Linked DNA regions of Homo sapiens: all the other regions are linked to region 1. Evidence: promoter capture Hi-C in 16 types of primary human blood cells and fetal thymus (Javierre and others, 2016). All regions are on one chromosome and are shown on one strand. Each heading gives the region's core, a stretch centred on a gene start or on the middle of the fragment in contact. The rest is flanking DNA. Distances are from core to core; before and after follow the strand shown.

Region 1 (4,173 bases), core at 1,155-3,654:
AAGCTCACGAAAGGGGCAATTGAGGCCCTCTAAGGCTGTGTATCCTCTGCCTCCAGGCAGTATCTTCTTCACTCAAACAGATGGCTGGAACTTCACTTCTGCAGAGCTCTGGGCAATGAATCAACTTAGCATCCACTCTCATGTGTTCTGAGTTAGAATAATCTTTGCTCTGGACTGTATCACCTTCCTGAAAATCTGAGAAATACTTGGATTATTTCTGCATCCTGAATGACTTCAATTTTTACCCTAGTATGGGGAGTTGGAGGGCCTGGAATCCCAATGCTTTCTTAATTCCCAAGCCTGTTTTAGGTGGTCCCAGGAAGGGAATGAGAAGGGGGTGTGTATAAAAGAGGGAAGTTGAGGGGATGGCAGTGCAGGTAGCCGCAGGTAAGGATTCCCCAATCCTCATTAGAGATCTCAATTGAATAACTGTTGCTATCTTCAAAGAAGAGATGGGACAGACAGCCCCCTTTACTCCACAAGGAAATGGCAGGTCTGTGTGTATATAAGTTGGAAGGCTATATTCATTTGAATATAACTCTCTGAATACATTTTTGTCTTCATTTGAATATATTAAATTTCACTGAGTCCAAGTTGAGTCACTTTAATGGAGGGGAAGCAATGGCCTAAATAATTCAAGGCGGTAGATAATCCCCAAATCATTTATGAATGTGATTGAAAGGCACTTGGAAGGGGCTTTGGAAGGTGCTTTGTGGACTTCTCTGGGCCAAAAGGAAGAAATCATTAATGGAGGTAAATGAAAAGCTACTCTTAGACCTGTACCAGAATAGCTGTACAGACCCCATGCTATTGGAAGAGCAACAAGCAGGTTGGAATTCTGAGGGCACAAAGAGAGTCGCAGTTATGTATGGATTGAGAGAAGCTAGGAAACAATAAGCTCACAACTGGCATCACTCCCGAATTAACCAATATACCACCTCGGAACAGCCCAGGCACTGGGCAAAATCCTTAGGTAAGAATTTAAGTCTGGCTTTGTTATTCACAAGGTTGAGTAATATTGGCTAAATTAATTCCCCTCTCTGGGTATCAGTTTCCTAAGGGGACTCAGCTCAAATATGGGATAATTATTTCATTTTTCACAAAGTATTTTATCTTTTTATTGTAATCATAGCAAAAAATTGACAAAAGTAGACATTGGGAAAACTATAATCCTATGATGTTAATATGACATATTTTTACATTTGTGTGCTTGACCAGATTTTTGTCCATATGAAACAAAATCCCGTTTTTACATAGTGTGTGTACCATTTTGTATTATTATTTTCTGAGATAGGGTCTCACTCTGTCTCTCAGGCTGGAGTGCAGTGGCATGATCACAGCTCACTGCCGCCTCGACCTCCCAGACTCAAGCGATCTTTCCACATCCTGGGCTAAGCCTCCCTCCCAAGTAGCTGGGACTACAGATGCGTGCCACCATGCCCTGCTTTTTTTTTTTTTTTTTCCTAAGAGATGGGGCCTCCCTGGCTGGGACGCCTGTAATCCCAGCACTTTGGGAGGCCAAGGCGGGCAGATCACAAGGTCAGGAGATCGAGACCATCCTGGCTAACACGGTGAAACCCCACTCTACTAAAAATATAAAAAACTAGTTGGGCGTGGTGGTGGGCGCCTATAGTCCCAGCTACTTGGGAGGCTGAGGCAGGAGAATGGCATGAACCTGGAAGGCAGAGCTTGCAGTGAGCCAAGATCGCGCCACTGCACTCCAGCCTGGGGGACAGAGCGAGACTCCGTCTCAAAAAAAAAAAAAAAAAAAAAAAAAAAGAGATGGGGCCTCCCTATGTTGCCCAGGCTGGCCTGGAACTCCTGTGCTCAAGAGATCCTCCTGCCTGGACCAGTGTTGGGATTACAGACATGAGCCACTGTGCCCGTCCCTATTTTGCACTTTTTTTCACTTAACATAAAAAACAGTTCTGGGCTGGGGGTGGTGGCTCACGCCTATAATAATCCCAACACTTTGGGAGGCCGAGGCATGAGGATCATTTGAGCCCAGGAGTTCGAGACCACCTTGGGCATCAAGGTGGTACGTACCCCCATCTCTACAAATAACACAAAAATTAGCTGATTGTAGTGGTGCATGCCTATAGTCCCAGCTACTCAGAGAGCTGAGGTGGGAGGATCGCTTGAACCGGGGAGGTTGGGGCTGCAGTAAGCGTTGTTTATACCAGTGCACTCCAGCTTGGGCAACAGAGTAAGATCTTGTCTCTTAAAAAAAAAAAAAAGAAGTATCAATGTACTGTGTATGGATTCTACCAGTATCCGTGGTCTGGAGGGCCCCCTGGCCACTTCGTGTTAGTCTCATACCTTTGAAACAGTAGTGGTTCCAGTGTTCCATTCTCAGTTGTTTTTTTTTTTTTTTTGAGATGGAGTCTCGCTCTGTCGCCCAGGCTGGAGTGCAGTGGCGCGATCTTGGCTCACTGCAAGCTCCGCCTCCCGGGTTCAAGCCATTCTCCTGCCTCAGCCTCCTGAGTAGCTGAGACTACAGGCACCCGCCACCACGCCTGGCTAATTTTTTGTATTTTTAGTAGAGACAGGGTTTCACCGTGTTAGCCAGGATGGTCTCGATCTCATGATCTCGTGATCCCCCCCGCCTCGGCCTCCCAAAGTGCTGGGATTACAGGTGTGAGCCACCATGCCCGGCCTCAGCTGTTGTTCTTACCCCAGTTTGTTCCCATCTTCTAAAATAGCTTCTATACTTTCATTATTTCAACCATTACTTATGGACTTATGACCCCCCACACCGATATCTCTGGGCCTTGACTGTATCACTGTTCTCTCTGTATCCACTTGCCCTTTGCTACCTCCTCCTGAGAATCCTGGAAACTCCTCAAATGCAGACCCTTCAAAGTCTGCCCCAGACCTGCCTTTACTGCATTTTCCTCCACTTCTATTCTCCTTATCCCTCCCAGAATTTCACAGAACTATGCTCCAAGCCCCAACAAGCTGGTCTCTTGGATTTCAATGCCTCTGCTCCCACAATCCACTCTGCATATTTTGGTCTCTTCCTCCCTGATGCCTTCATGGGTTCCTCCAAGTAAAATTACTCATTCTCTCTTTGGTGCTTTCACAACCTCTTATGCCTCATCTGTATTATAAAATAAACTGCGAATTCCTGTGGACAGAGTCCATTTCTACTTCATCTGTGGATCTTCAATTCCTGGCTGAGTGTGTAGCATATAGCAGATGCTTATTAAATAATTGTGGGATGAATCAGTGGTCAAGTCATGGTTCCCACTTGCTTCATTTTTCACCAATGCTGTCATTGTCACCACTGATCAGTGCCCTTACTGTTATCATCATTAACTTGATCATGATCACACTTCCTTCATGGTCACTATTATTAACTCCATTGACCACATCATCTCATCATTTACAGCAACAAAAAAAAACCTTCATTAAACATCTGTTCCCAGAGGATAGTATGCAAAGAGCTTTTAATGGAGTTACATGTCATCCCTGCCTTCCAGAGCTCATAGTCTAAAACATAGTTTGTGCTGGGACATGGTCATTATAGACTTTCTGAAGGATGAACAGTGAACAAGAAAGTGAAAATTATTTAAAGAATGACATGAGGCCAGGTATGGTGGCTCATCCCTATAGTATCAGCACTTTGCGAGGCTGGGGAAGATTGCTGAGGCCAGGAGTTTGAGACCAGCCTGGGCAACTAGCAAGACATCTTTACAAAAAATTAAAAAATTTGCTGGTCGTTGTGGAGCGCACCTATAGTCCTAGCTACTTGGGAGGCTGAGGTGAGAGGGTCACTTGAGCTGAAGAGGTTGAGGCTGCAGTGAGCCCAGATCATACCACTGCACTCCAGCCTAAATGTCTGTCCCCTACCCCACCAAAAAAGACATGATGTGACATTTAGAGAGGCACGGTGGAATCCCCAGCCCTCTCACCTCCTACTTGGACTTGTCTCCATCGTCACCCACAGTGTGAAACTCACCAAAAACACTAATAATGGTTAGTAAGACTTCACTGCCCAGACTTTCTGGCCAGTCCCCGCCCCAGCTCCATAGTCTTCCCTTCTGCCTTCTTGCTTTCTCCATGAGACTGTCTTGGTCTAGATATCCTTATCACTGAGTCTGATCACAGCAGTAAGATTGCACAGTATGCCCCCTTGAAGCACCAGAAGTTTTTGGTTTCTGAGTTTAAAAG
Region 2 (3,657 bases), core at 959-3,458, 200 kb after region 1:
TTTTTTGAAATTGGATAGGAACACTGACGGTGCTAAACATAAATATAAATACAGAGACCACAAATACAGCTAAAAATCTTCACACAGAAACGGTCACAGTTTGTAAAATGCCATAATGACCCCCAGGATTCTTTAAATACAATTTGCCTGGGCTGGGCATTTGCTGGGGCAGAGGGGCTAGGCAGGGACTGCGGGGAGGCCCTGGGGGTTGGTGTGGGGCCAAGGCGCGCCCTCCTTGGGCCTCCGGCCCTCCCCGGCTGCCAGGCCGGGCCCTGAGGCCCTGGAGCAGAGGCCCCAGCAGGCCCAGGAGCCGGCTCTCTGCACGGGGGGCGGGGGTGGGGGCGTCGAAGGAGTGGGGGAGCCAAGTCCTCACTTGGAGGGCAATCTGTAGAGTCTGAGTTCAGGGTCCGAGCCCCCAAGGCCTGGACGGGGAAAAGGGCCTGTAGACAAGCCGAGAACGAGCTAGCAAGGGAGCGAGGAGGAGGAGGCGCGTGGTGAAAGAGAGTTGTGCGGTGAGGGAGGGGGTCCAGAGCTGACTTTCAGGTCCACGTTTGACTCCCTAATTTTGTTTTAGGGAATCAAAACACATCAATTGTGCCAGTGATAAATACAGAGTGTGTGATTAGGGGAGAGTTGGTGGGGAGCGAGGGAGAAAGGGAGAGAGGGGTGGCAGGGACAGTCCTGGTCACTCTTTCTGCTTCTCCTCTTCTGTCTCTTCCCGCTTTTCCTCTTTTCCGCCCAGGCTGTCGGCGGTGGCCCCTCCGCCGCCCCCCGAGAGAGTGGATGTGAGATTAGATTCTTTTTTCCACTTCATCCGGCGGTTCTGGAACCAGATTTTGATCTGTCGCTCGGTCAGGCAAAGCGCGTTGGCGATCTCGATGCGCCGGCGCCGCGTTAGGTAGCGATTGAAGTGAAATTCCTTCTCCAGTTCCAGGGTCTGGTACCGCGAGTAGATCTGGCGGCCGCGCCTCCGGTCCGCTCCGTAGCCGACCCCTAAAGATCCGGGCACAAAACACACTAAAAGCAATCAGCAAAGCGTCCTCTGCAGACTGTTTCGCCTAGCAAAGTCCTGACCCTCCCAACCTGGCCAGCAGCTCACAGCCTCCTTAGGGCTCTAGCCTTCTCCCTTTTGCCTTGCCCCACCCCCACTGGGGGTACAGCGAGGACCCCAACTTCAGACCTCCTATAAGGTGGGACCTGTGTGTCCCAAAGAAAGGTGTGTGGTGGGGGGGGGGGCGGGGGGGCGGGGCAAAAGGCAAACAGAAAGCTGCAAGTCTAAAAGCAGATTTTTGAAAAATCCCAGATAATGGGGATGAGGGCCCCCTTTCTCAAGGACTGGGCTCCCCCATCTCCCCAAGCATCCTAGTTCCTTGGAAACTTCTCCCCACTTATCTGCCTCTCCTCTCCCCCTCCCTTCTCCTCAGACTGACTCCACTTTGGGGGGCTCCCCTATCTTCTGCTCCCTCCCCTCATCCCCTGCCCTGTTCCTGCCCCCTCAGCCCGCCTTGGGGCCCTCCAATCCGTCAGGGGCCAAGGGGGCCAGGCCCCTGCAAGCGAGCGAGAGGCGAGCTGAGGGGGCAGAAGAGGGGGCCCTGTCTCGGTGAGGAGACGAGCGTGATTGTTTTTATGGGGCCATAAAAAACTCTCTCCGCCCGTTCTTCTAGGGAAGCCGGTCATAAAGCCAGTTCAGTTTATTTAATTTATATCTCGGAGCTGTAAAACTCACCACTGTGCGAATTCATTCGCTGCATCCAGGGGTAAATCTGGATACTGGCTTTCTGGTCCTGGGGCGCAGTCCTGCCCTGCTCAGAACTAAAATCCTGAGCGATTGAGGTCTGTGTGTTATGTCCTAAGGTGTTTTGTCTGCAGTTTGAGAGCATGTCTTTCTCCTGGTAAAAGGAATTAGATCCATAGTCATACGGCCCCCGGCTGGAACTGAACACGACATTCTCCTGTGGCGAATAAAAGGGAGTCGAGTAGATCCGGTTCTGGGCAACGGCCGCTCCATAGGTCGAGAAATGCCTCACTGGATCATAGGCGGTGGAATTGAGGGCGACGTTGGGGAGGACGTCCTGGCCCCCGGCGAGGTGGCAGGATAAGGAAGGGTTAGTGAAGTAGGAATTCATCCCTTTGCCTTTACCTGGTCGGTCTATGATTTCTTTAATATTTATTTCTGTCTCCAGTTTGTACTCGGAACTAGATGGTTATAGGGACGGCTCCAATCCAGGACAGACAAAATGACAAAGTCAGCTGACCCCCTCCCAGCCAATCGCAAGCCAGATGTCAGGAAGGGGGAAAAAAATCGCTTCTGCTTCTGTTGATTCCCTAGTTGAGACTAAGTGTGTGCTTTGAAAGTAAGACTTGGATTTCTTTTAAAAAATATATATATATATATATATATGTAAGGGAACTGGTTTGGTGGTGAAGGAGGGGTGCATGTCCCTGAGCAGGGCCTTGGGACTCAGGGAAGGAGAGCTGTACTACCAGGAAATCTCTCAGCCCCAGCTAACTTTGCTGTGCTGTGGCCAGAGCCAGGGCTAGAGAAACCCCTGTATTTTCAATCTGGTTTCATGTTTTATATCTGCCCCCTTCTAAAATTACATCCTGATTTCTCCAAGGGAAGAACTCCCTCCCAGCACAGGAGGGGGGTCCCTAGAAATCCTGCAGGAAATCCTGTTTTGACACTCCATGGAGTGAGTCCCATCACTAAACTAGTATTTTTTTCACCAATAATTAAAAAAAAATCAAAAGTAGAAAGAAATTTCATAAAACCTGTTCCCCTGAGTAAGTAGAGTGTGGCTGAGAGTCTTGAATGTAGTAGGGATGTGGGGAACAACTAGGTCTAAAGGGGCAAGACTTCAGGGTACAGTGGCAGAGCTGGAGTGGGCAAATGGGCCACGCATCTGCTCTCCTTTGCCTCCTGGCTCCCTTCTGCCTCCTTCTCAGGACCCCTCTGTTGGGAAAACTCTTCCAGCATTTTTGCCTAAAAGGGAAAATGTATAAAAAATGCAATAGAAAAAGGAGAAAAAGAAGTAAAATGTAGGGAGGTGGCACCGGAGGGGGAAAGACAGAGAGAAAGAGAGAGAGAGGAAGAACGAAAACTCTGAGAATCTTTCTAGAGACATCAACTCCTGTTTATGTTGGTGAGAATTTATTATTTGGAGCCAGTGAGGGCCTGTGGGGTAATTCACATAGGATCCAGCCAGAAAGAGAAGGCTGGTGGGGCTCTGATGGACAGTTAGCTTCCTGCAGGCTCAAGCCCCTGCCTTGGTCAGAAGCCCCCCTGCCCCCTCCAGACTCAGGGCACCGCCAGTGGAGGCGCCCCTGGACCTGAGCTATGAGGCTTGGAGACTTCAGAAAGGGGTTCTAAGGAGCTCTCACCCAAGTGCCAGTCACCCGTGGTGGGGATGGGCCTCTCAGCAACCTCAACGCCCATTTTATTCCCCCATCTTGGGGCTAAAAAAAGGGAAGAGACGGTTACGAAAAGGCAGCTGAATCCGAGGCTTGTGAGGGAGCCGCAGTAGGCGAACTGAAACAGCGGAAAGTGTGCAGATGGGGGTTTTCTCCTGATTAGTCCAAACTTAATTTGATATCGTGATATAGGCTGAAAATGCCTTGAGTTGACAAAGAAGGGTGGTGGGGAGTGTGCGGGGAGCA
Region 3 (4,060 bases), core at 563-3,062, 200 kb before region 1:
GCTCTCACCTAAAGGTTGCCTTTTTGGCAATGCTGGGCTTAAAGATCCTGACCCAGAGATTCCCTGGGTTCCTCACCTAAGAAAGGGTCAGGACTTGCAGATGTGAGAATGGGATACGGGCCAGCATTGCCCCACAGTCTGGCCAGCCAGCCTCTCCCTTGGGCTGCAGCTGGCTCTGGAGGGGGGCTTTTAAAAAAGCAGATGGGTGATTTGGGACAGGAAGTGGAGTAGCAGAGTGAGGGGGAGAGTCATGGCAGGAAAAAAACATTGACTCTGGGCACTCTTATTCTGAGCCTTTCAGCCCGAAGTGGGGCAGGGGACTGGAGAACAGAAGGGACAGGGTTGACAGGATATTATTGACAGGGTATTATTCTGGAAAGTGAGGAGTCCTGGAGGAAAGAGACTGAAAGGACTTGTAGTCCCCTCCCCCAGACTAAGATAAAGGCTAGAATCCTGAAAAGTGATCTCATCACACAGAGCCTGAGCTTGGGGAAGAGGTGGGCAGGGGGTCACTGCCTTCCCTTTCTAGAGTCCCTTCCTCTACTTCCACAGGGGAATCTGGGAAGAATGGGGTCCTGGCTTTCCGCTCCCATTGTTTTTTTGGTTTTTGGTTTTTGGATTTTTTTTTTTTTTTTTTTTTTGGATACAGTCTTGCTCTGTCACCCAGGCTAGAGTGCAGTGGTGCAATCGCGGCTCATTGCAGTCTCTGCCTCCTGGGTTCAAGTAATTATCCTGCCTCAGCTTCCCGAGTAGCTGGGATTACAGGTGCGGACCACCACATCTGGATAATTTTTGTATTTTTAGTGGAGATGGGTTTTGCCATGTTGGCCAGGCTGGTCTTGAACTCCTGGCCTCAGGTGATCTGCTCACCTCGGCATCCCAAAGTGCTGGGATTACAGGTGTGAGCCACCGTGCCTGGCCAGAGCTCCCAGCGTTTACAGCCATTAGGAGCTGAAGGTTGGGTCCCTTTGCAAGACTTTCCACCACCACCACCACCTCTCACAATTCTCCAGGTTTGTAGGAACCCGGCCAGTTTAATCAAGCAGGTACTGAGGGGCCAGCCACTCGCAGGCTTTTGGTCAACTGTCAGATCCAAGGAAGGGGCTCAGCAGAGGTTTACATACCCTAGGACCAAGAAGGGGGCAAACTGGAGCAGAATCCTCCTGATGAATGACCCCAAACTCCTGGGTTTTCAATACTAGCAAGCTTGGAGGAGGAAGCAGCGGAACTTGAGGAGCCCGTGTAGGTCCTCTAGCAAGCTGACTGCGAACGCTGTCTCTGTACCTCAACTGTTGTGTCCCAAATCCAGCTGGCCAGAACCCAGGCACCCGGCGGCCCCGGAAGGCAAGGGGGAATCCCAGTTGGCCGGACGCCAGAGGAGTCTCCTGTCTCTTTAGACCCCAAAGTCTCCTCCCTAAAGCACTGAGGGAGACCCCACACACATATACAGGCTTCCTCCGCCCACCAGAGGTGATTCCTTTCCTCATTAGGAAATTCTCCGCTCCCTTTTCCGACTCGTTTTCCGAGCGTTTACGTTGTACATCTGGAAAGGAATGGGGAGGAAGGAGGGGGAAGCAGAGAGGAGGGGGAAGAACCCAAACCCGCCCAGTCTAACCCAGTCCAGACAACCGGCTTCCAGCTGGGGCTGGGGAAAGGGGGTTGGAGGGGTGCGCCCCCCCCCCACGCCCCTTAGGGGTGGGGGACGCGGGCTCAGAGTTCCAGGGACCCAGGAATGCCCCCCCGCCAGCCCCCTCGGCAGGCGGGGGGAGGGCTCAGCCGGGAGTTTGGCAAACTCCTCCCCGCGTTGAGTCATTCGCCTCTGGGAGGTTTAGGAAGCGGCTCCGGGTCGGTGGCCCCAGGACAGGGAAGAGCGGGCGCTATGGGGAGCCGGACGCCAGAGTCCCCTCTCCACGCCGTGCAGCTGCGCTGGGGCCCCCGGCGCCGACCCCCGCTGCTGCCGCTGCTGTTGCTGCTGCTGCCGCCGCCACCCAGGGTCGGGGGCTTCAACTTAGACGCGGAGGCCCCAGCAGTACTCTCGGGGCCCCCGGGCTCCTTCTTCGGATTCTCAGTGGAGTTTTACCGGCCGGGAACAGACGGGTGAGTGAGGAGGGCTGGAGACGGGATGGGGGTGGGGGAGCCGCCTGGAGACTGGGGGCGCGGCTGGGGTCTGGAGGGGACCAGGGCTTAAGTTTGAGGGTGGAGTTTGTAAGGAATAGAGCTGCAGTTGGGGGCCCTGGCTAGAGTTGGGGGCCCGCGCTGGAGTAGGGAGGGCACCGTGGCGGGTGAGGAGGGGCCCTGGCGTTTGAGATCAGTGGGGAGACATGTGTCCGGTGGGGAGAGGACACGGAGCTGGAGAAGTCTGGGCAGGGGTCTCCGGGCCAAGGGAGAGGAGAGCGCGTGAATGGAGAGCTGAGGGTCTCTGGCTGAAGTCTGTGGGCTGCTGGGACCTGGGGCGGGTGGGGGCGCAGAGGGGGCGCAGAGGCCGGGAAGGGCTTTTGGGGGCTCCAGGAGACCTCGGGATCCGTAGGGGCCATTGTGCGGCGAGAGAACGGGTAGAAGCCGAATGAGCTACGTGTAGTAGGAGGAAAGTCAAAGACTGAGGGGGTCGGAAGGTTAAATGGGGGCCAGCCTCATCCTCCCCTCCCCCCTCAACTCAGACCGGGGAAAGACCCGAGAGAGGACGGCGGCTCCCTCTCCTTTCTCCTCTGTCTCCTACTCCTCCCTCCGCCCCCAATCTCTGTTCAGGCGAGGGGATCCGAGAACTGGGGGCGAGTGCGGGGACCCTGGCACTGGGGCCCTGGGGCTGGGGGCGAACTCAGCCAAGGGCGGGTGCTGGGATGTGTCGGGAGGGGTGTGTGCGCGCGTGAAGGGGGGTGGGCGGTTTCCCTCTTCCTCTGGCTCTTGGGAGGAAGAGAAAAGCTGGTTTCCTGTAGCTGGTCGGCTGGAGCTGTGCTGAGACCGGGACTTCTGGGGCTGGGGTCGGAAGCTGGGGAGACGGGGGCTCCGTGGGGCCAAGAACGTCAGAATGAAGGACTCAGGACCCTGGAAATCTCAAAGGAGGATCCTTATTCCCAACTCAGCACAGTGATAAGCAGACCCGGACCCCGAGTGCCTAGAAAATGGGGTACTGACAGGCTTGGGAAACAGGAGTTAGAGTGGAAGCAACATTAGAACCAAGGGTGTCTGTTTAAATGTGGGATGGCGGGGAGATTGGGAAGCAAGAGAGGTAGGTGGTTGCTCCTGGGCTAGGCCATAGATGCCAGATTCCTGGTCCTCCACAATGACTGGTGTAATCCTTTTTCTTCTACATCTCTGAGCTGGGAGCTTCCTACTGCTCACCCCCACCCCAACCCCAGGATCTCAGGGTTTGAGGGGAATTCTGTCAGAAGCGACCTGTTTTTACACATGAGACAGTTAACTGATCTCTACTCAGTCCCTATAGTTTTTGGAGAAAAGGGGTTAATCTAGCTAATACAACTGGGGAGAAAGGCAAATTCTCCTTTGTCTGGAGGACTTGGGGATGGGAGAAAAGAAAAATGATTAGGCCCCGACTGTTGTTCTGGGCTATTCAAGGTCCCCACCCAACCCCCACCCCACCCCCCTGGCCTTTTGCCCAAACCCCATTGCATCATCACCCTGGCCTGGAGCCTCTGCCAGGCCTGGTCTCCCCCAGGTTCCCTCAAACTTCTTATCACAGCCCTAATGGAGTAGAAAAGAGGGAAGGAGGAAGGGGATGAGGTCTCCTCCCGCAGATCAGAGTATCTAGTTGTCTGGCATTTAACCTTCTCTTTACTCCCCCCTCCCCTAAATTTCCCTTTAAAACACTCCTCTAAAACATCTGGACTTCACACATTCCTGGTCCCCTAGGTGTCTGTCTGGCCCCTGGCCTGATCCTGTAGTCCCTAAAGTCCTCTTCTAAAACAGGACCTAGCTCTCTCATCCCTTCCCCCTCCCCTTCTGCTCATCTCCCCTCCCAAGAGAACCCAGGTGTCCAGCTTGCACTCCTTCCCTCTCATTTCCTATTTACAATACCCTCTTACAGTGGAACATTCTACCTCCC

Evidence for each region. The method cuts DNA at HindIII sites, captures the fragments that hold promoters and counts their contacts. A CHiCAGO score of 5 or more calls a contact.
Region 2: a contact is called between the fragment with the promoter of HOXC6 here and a fragment that was not itself captured in region 1, in 3 of 17 cell types (naive CD8 T cells, naive B cells and naive CD4 T cells). The highest score is 7.0, in naive CD8 T cells.
Region 3: a contact is called between the fragment with the promoter of ITGA5 here and a fragment that was not itself captured in region 1, in 1 of 17 cell types (monocytes). The highest score is 5.6, in monocytes.

What each region holds. Positions count from the first base shown.
Region 1 is chr12:54,221,787-54,225,959 of GRCh38, reverse strand. No RefSeq gene overlaps it. Among named protein-coding and RNA genes, the nearest start is that of MIR3198-2, 7.6 kb to the left of the region's middle. The HindIII fragment of the contact is 5,474 bases long and covers 1-4,173 here.
Region 2 is chr12:54,026,991-54,030,647 of GRCh38, reverse strand. HOXC6 (homeobox C6) reads right to left here and starts at 2,208. Exons shown (of 2, transcript NM_004503.4): 1 at 1,727-2,208; 2 at 1-993. The coding sequence starts at 2,126. The coding sequence ends at 686. It also overlaps a transcript of HOXC4 not described here and a transcript of HOXC5 not described here. The HindIII fragment of the contact is 15,214 bases long and covers 1-3,657 here.
Region 3 is chr12:54,417,018-54,421,077 of GRCh38, reverse strand. It overlaps ITGA5 (integrin subunit alpha 5), which reads left to right and starts at 1,812. Exons shown (of 30, transcript NM_002205.5): 1 at 1,812-2,097. The coding sequence starts at 1,880. All of the region lies in intron 2 of GPR84-AS1 (GPR84, ZNF385A, ITGA5 and GTSF1 antisense RNA 1), which reads right to left. The HindIII fragment of the contact is 3,058 bases long and covers 1,209-4,060 here.